Linked DNA regions of Homo sapiens: region 2 is linked to region 1. The links are contacts of gene promoters, found by promoter capture Hi-C in blood cells and fetal thymus (Javierre and others, 2016). All regions are on one chromosome and are shown on one strand. Each heading gives the region's core, a stretch centred on a gene start or on the middle of the fragment in contact. The rest is flanking DNA. Distances are from core to core; before and after follow the strand shown.

Region 1 (2,825 bases), core at 156-2,655:
CGCCGGAGCCCGTGGACGCAGAGCTGCCGAAGTTCGAGCGCAGGCGGACCGGGTCGGCGGCGCAGTCCCGCGCGCCCATGCCCCTCCCGGTGCCGCTGCGCTCCGCGCGCCCGCGCCCCGTTTAGGGAAGGGGACCTCGCCCCCCGCCCCCGCGCCCACGGCTGCGGGGACCCATGAATACAAATGCCGTTAGGCGCCGGAGGAAGGACCGACCGGCCAGCCTCGCACGTAGGGACCCAGTAAGTGCTTGGGGGCTCCTGGAGCGGTGCGAAGTGTTATATGCCTGTGTGTGCGCGCGCCTAAAGGTGTGCGCGTATGGGGAGGTGGGTACACGCGTGAGGAGTGAATGCGTGTGTGCACATGTGCGGTGGGCACTCTCGGAGAACTGTGTGCAAGTGAGGGTGTGCGCGCGTGTGTCCACCCGGGGTGTGTACATGTGTGGGGGCGATATGGCCAGGATAGCGTGCATTTGTGCCTGTGTAAGCATCCGTGTGCATGCTTCTGCGAGTGTAGAGTATCAGCGTGCGCCTGAGCCCAGATATCTGAGGATGCGTTTCGTGTGAACCTAGGAAGGGTGCGTGGCTGTCCCAGAATGGGACCGTGTGTGAGCGTGTGTCTGAGTTTGGGGAAAGGGTGGATACGTGTGGGAGTGTGTGTGTGCACCGGTGAATAAGTGTAACTTTGCTCGTGAACGAGTGGCAAGAGGTGGTAGAGGCGGAGGGAGCTGTGGTCCCAGGGCTGGACTGGAGTTTTGGGTGTGAGAATTTGCCCGGGGGCCAAGGTGTGCAGCTCTTAGCTCCCGGATGGGATCCGAGGGAGTTTTTGTCGATTCTGGGGAGGTGCGTGGTTAGTGGTGGTGGTGGGGTGCGGTTAGATTCCAATTGCTGACAGAAGGGAGAGAGAGGGTGGCAAACCCTTAACAAGCCCACCCTATATGTTCTCCAGGGCGCTCCGAGTCTGGGAGCGCAAACTTTTGGTGGGCGGTGGGGATCACGATACTGGTTGTCGTGGGCGTCTGGACACCAAGTTCTGGTCCTAGCTCCGTCCCTGAAACTGTGGGTTTCTTCCAGGAGTAGAATTTGGCCCTTCTCCCCTACCCCAACCCCCCATTGGAGGACCCCCAGCCTCACCAGTCAGAAGTTCCTAATCTCAGAACGGTGATCAAATCACCGTGAAGCCCTGGGCAGCCCCTTCCTCTCTGTGAATCTGTTTCCCCATCTATACAAGGAGGAGGGGGGCGGGTGTCCCATCGGGGCTGTAGTGGGCCAGCTGAGGCTGTACCCTTGGCTCCGGCCGGCAGGGGGCAGCAGGGGGCAGCAGAGGGCGGCCGGGAGCGGGGAGGAGGGAAGGTGGAGAGCCACCGCGGGCCGAGACTTTAAATCGCCTTCATTTCCCCCAAATCCTTCCTTTTCCTCTCCTCCCCCAGGCCGGCGGGGAGGCAGCTTCCACCGCCCTCCGCGCGCCCTCACCCGGCCTTGCTCTGCCTCCGGGGACCGCCAGCAGCCCGCCTCCAAAAGTTTGATCATCTCTCTCTCTCTTTTTCTTGCTTCTTCTTCCTTTTTGGTGGAAGCAGAAAAGGACCGAGGCAGGGGCGAGCGCGGCGCCCGGACTCCTGGGACCATGGGCCTGGCGCGGGCGCCCGCGGGGCCCCAGCCGCGCTGCCTGCCTGCTCGGGCGCCCCTGGGCGCGGGGCTGCGCTGGGGGCGCGGGGGCCGCGCGCTCTAAGCCGGCCTGGCGCGGCGGGGCGGGGGGCTGGCGGCCCCATGGGGCGCGCCCACACTTGCCCCCCGGGCTCGGGAGCATGAAGTAGGGGCCTGCCATGGGAGCGGGATCGGCGCGGGGGGCCCGAGGCACAGCGGCGGCGGCGGCGGCGCGCGGGGGGTGAGTACGAACTCGGGGACGCCCCCTCCCTAGCTTCCTGCTGCTCCAATCTCGGGGAGGGCCGGGGTTCCCCGCCATGCGGTCGCTTCCAGCGGAACGTCAGCTTCCTGCCCCTTCCTGCGCCCCCGCGAGGCGGGACGCCAAGGGTTAATAGGGGCTGCGCCCCCGGCCGGGCGAGAGTTGGCGAACGCTGCCCGCCCTGCCGCGCCTGGCCCGGCTGCCCGATCCCGTTGGGGCGGGGGCAGAGCCAGCCCGGGGGTCGGGGGTGGGGGTGGGTGGTGGCGCCTGGAGCGGCCGGCGGGGTGCGGAGGGGGGCTTTTTGGATGCTTGGGGGAGGAGGGGGGTCTCCGTTTGGGGCCGTCTCGGTGTGTTCCGGTGTCTCAGTGTCTGCAGGTCCCAAGCCTGTACGTCTCCGTTTCTATCTGTTCTTGTGAAATTGTCCGCAAGTTTCTAGGTCACCAGGTCTCGGGTTCTGCTCCTGTCTCCGTGTCTGTGTGGCTCTGCACGTCCCCGCGTTTCTGGAAATCTCCGCGTGTTTGTGTTAGTCGGCCTGGGTCTGTGTGTCTGTGTTTCCTGCTTCTCGGTTCCTGTCCCTTTCACGTGTGTAAGAGAGAAAAAGTGAGAGCCAGCATGTCAGAGCAGAAAGGGCCCTGGGCGATCACTGTGCGGAACCCCTCAGTGTACAGATCGGGAGACAGGGCCGGAGAGGGGCAGGGACTCTCCCAGGAGCGGCTGCGCGGAGCTGGGGCCCAGAGGCTGGGATTCCCAGCGTGTGGAGTAGGAGTTGTAAGAGAGAGTGAGCCTGTGCTGGAGCCGGCGCAGCGTGTGGGTGTGTGTGGGAGCCAGCAGCATGCAAGCAGCCCGTTGGGGCCTGTGGACGGCGCTCCTCTCTTTCCATCCTGCCCCCAGGACACCAGGACACTCCCCAGAGGCTGTTAGGGCTG
Region 2 (2,825 bases), core at 244-2,743, 140 kb after region 1:
GTTCAGTGAAAATTTCAAAATGTTGATGAAATAAAAGAAAACCTAAATAAATGGAAAGACATCTCATATTCATAGGTCAGAAGACTTTGTGTGGTTAAGATGGCTATACTTACCACAAACAGAGCTACAGATTAAATATAATCCCTATCAAAATCCAAGCTGACTTTTTAACGAAATCTGACAAATTGATCCTAAAATTCATATGGAAATGCAAGTGGCCCAGAATAGCCAAAATTTTGATCTTTAAAGAAGATCAAAGTTGGACAACTCACACTTCCCAATTTCAAAACTTATTACAAAAGTATAGTAATCAAGACAGAAATAAAACCTTACATTTATGTCTGTTGTTTTTAGCAAGAGTGCTAGGGCAATTGAATGGGAAAAGAATTTTTTTTCAATAAACAGTGCTGAGACAATCACACAATCACATATCACGTACCAGAGAAGTAATTTGGACCTCTGCTTCACACCACATGCAAAAATTAGCTAAAAATGAAGTATAGACCAATGTAAAGGCTAAAACTGTACAACTGTTAGAAAACATAAAAACACATTTTTATAACCTTGTGTTAGGTAATAGTTTCTTAGATATGACACCAACAAAAGCGAAGTACATAGATTGGACTTCATCAAAATCAAACACTTTTGTGCTTCCAAAGGCACCATCAAGAAAGTGAAAAAACTCACAGTAGGGGAGAAAGTATTTACGAATCATATCTCTGATAAGGAACATGTATCTCTAATATATAAAGAACCCTTACAACTCAAGAATAAAAAGACAATCCAAATTTAAAACGGACAAAGTATTCAAGTAGACATTTTTTCCAAAGGAGATACACAAATATCCAATAAGCATTGATAAGACAAATGAAAACCACCAAGAGAACCACCAATAGCTCAATAAAGCTATTATCTTTTAAAAATGAACAGGTAGAATTTAGATTAAATGGGACCCTCCCGAAGCCTGACCCCTCAGCCTACCTCCATCAGCACTGGGTCTTGACCTGCCTGGTCTCATTGCATCCTTCCAGCCCCTTGGGAGGGAGATGACGTATTATCCTATTTTACAGATGAGGAAACTGAGGCTCAGTAAAGGGAGGTGACTTGCTCCTGGTCTTATAATATAAGGCTAGGAGATTCTAATACATGGCTTTCTGCTTATGAGCTTGAAGGCCAAGCCCCAAGAATGTGTAATAATGGCAGGCTCTTCTGCCTCCAGGGGCCCCCAGCCCTCCCTTCTTGGCTCAGACCCCAGCATGCCCCCTTGCCAATTGCTCTCCTAACCCTTTACAAGATTGGGAGCAGAGGTCAGGAAAGGAGGCCAAAGGTTCCTGGAATCGTTCACACTGGGTTTGAATCTAGCACAGTCCACAACATGGTGTCTGCGTGACTTTTAGCAAGTTCCTGCCCTCTCTGAGCCTGTTTCCTCATCTGTAAACAGGGGATATGGTGTGTCCCTGGGTTGATGTGGGAGCATGGAAGTGTGGCGGTCCAGGCAAAACATCCGGCACCTAACAGGCCCTCAGTGAACTGGGTTATTTTTAGTTTTTAGGGGAATCCTTCCTTAACAGAGCTTTTCAGAGCTGTGGGAGGAGGCTGCAGGCCCTTTTATTCTGTCCCTTGAAGACCTGGGACAGGAGCTCCTGAGTGTGGCAGAGCCTCCTCTGTGGAATCCCTGAGCCGGGCTCCTCTTTCTCATCTGACGGAGAGCACAGGCTCCCCTCAGAGCCCAGGCGGACTGGCATCTAGTTTGTGAGCTGTTCACACTCACTTGGTCGCTTCACAGAGGAGTCACTGATATCCCTGGAAAGGCTGGGAGGGAAAAGGCAGGCCCTGAGGTCCCAGGTGGCTGGCGGGACACGCTGACCATGAGCTCACTCGCTCCATCACTTCCTGTTCTTCCTGCAGGGCGACTCTGGCGAGATGGGCTTCCCAGGAATGGCAGGTCTCTTCGGACCCAAGGTATGGACTCCCACGGCTCACTGTTCCTGTGGGGTCCCATCCATTCACCCCATTCATTCATTTATTCATTCAACAAATATTTATGGAGCACTGAAAACATTGGCTGGAAAACAGCCAGAATCAGGCATGAACACCCTCATCCCCCAGTACTCCAGAAGATCTAGGTTCCAAGCCCAGCTACACAATTACCTGCTCTGTGCCTTGCAAAGTCACTTAGTCTCTCTAAGCCTTGGTTTCCTCATCTGTAAAATGGGAGCAATGACAGTAGAAGACTGTTGCAAAAATAAAGACCAGGGGCATATGCCACACAGCACTGAGCCAACACACTGCTGGTACCTGCTGAATAATTGTAGGTGTTTCTTACTCCTTCTGGGGCCTCTCAGGTAAGGCCTCTCTTGACAAGAAGGGCAAAGGTTGACAGACCCCAGGGGTGAGGGAGCTGTGGGGGCCCTTTACCCAGTGGCTGCCAAGTACAGACAGCCCTTTCTCTGCCTCCCACAGGGCCCGCCTGGAGACATTGGCTTCAAAGGCATCCAGGGCCCTCGGGGGCCACCTGGCTTGATGGTGAGTTCCCTCCCTGCTGTCGGAGCAGAGATGATTGTCCTAGGCCCAAGGTTGGCCAGCCATCAGCTGGCCTGTCTTCATCCTCCTCTTGCTCCTTGACTCATGAGCCCTTTCTGCCCACAGGCCTGGTTCCCACCTTCACTCCTGCCGTTCCCACCAGCTCAGCCCCCATCCTTCCCCGCTTTCACTCTTGCCCCCATCGCCCCACTCTTGAAGTCCACCCCTAGGCACAAATGAGGGGCTCAGGAGATGCATGGCCTGGGCCCGCTTCAGATGGTCTCCCTTCTACTCCCTTGCGA

Evidence for each region. The method cuts DNA at HindIII sites, captures the fragments that hold promoters and counts their contacts. A CHiCAGO score of 5 or more calls a contact.
Region 2: a fragment that was not itself captured here is called in contact with the fragment with the promoter of COL27A1 in region 1 in 6 of 17 cell types (endothelial precursors, M1 macrophages, M0 macrophages and 3 more); the score reaches 12.3 in endothelial precursors.

The regions. Positions count from the first base shown.
Region 1 is chr9:114,154,132-114,156,956 of GRCh38, forward strand. COL27A1 (collagen type XXVII alpha 1 chain) reads left to right here and starts at 1,406. Exons shown (of 61, transcript NM_032888.4): 1 at 1,406-1,881. The coding sequence starts at 1,820. It overlaps LOC105376225 (a long non-coding RNA gene), which reads right to left and starts at 137. Exons shown (of 5, transcript XR_930256.3): 1 at 1-137. RefSeq lists silencers at 1,271-1,390, 2,278-2,572. The HindIII fragment of the contact is 6,106 bases long and covers 1-2,825 here.
Region 2 is chr9:114,298,162-114,300,986 of GRCh38, forward strand. It overlaps COL27A1 (collagen type XXVII alpha 1 chain), which reads left to right. Exons shown (of 61, transcript NM_032888.4): 50 at 1,909-1,962; 51 at 2,464-2,526. Among named protein-coding and RNA genes, the nearest start is that of ORM1, 24 kb to the right of the region's middle. The HindIII fragment of the contact is 8,509 bases long and covers 1-2,825 here.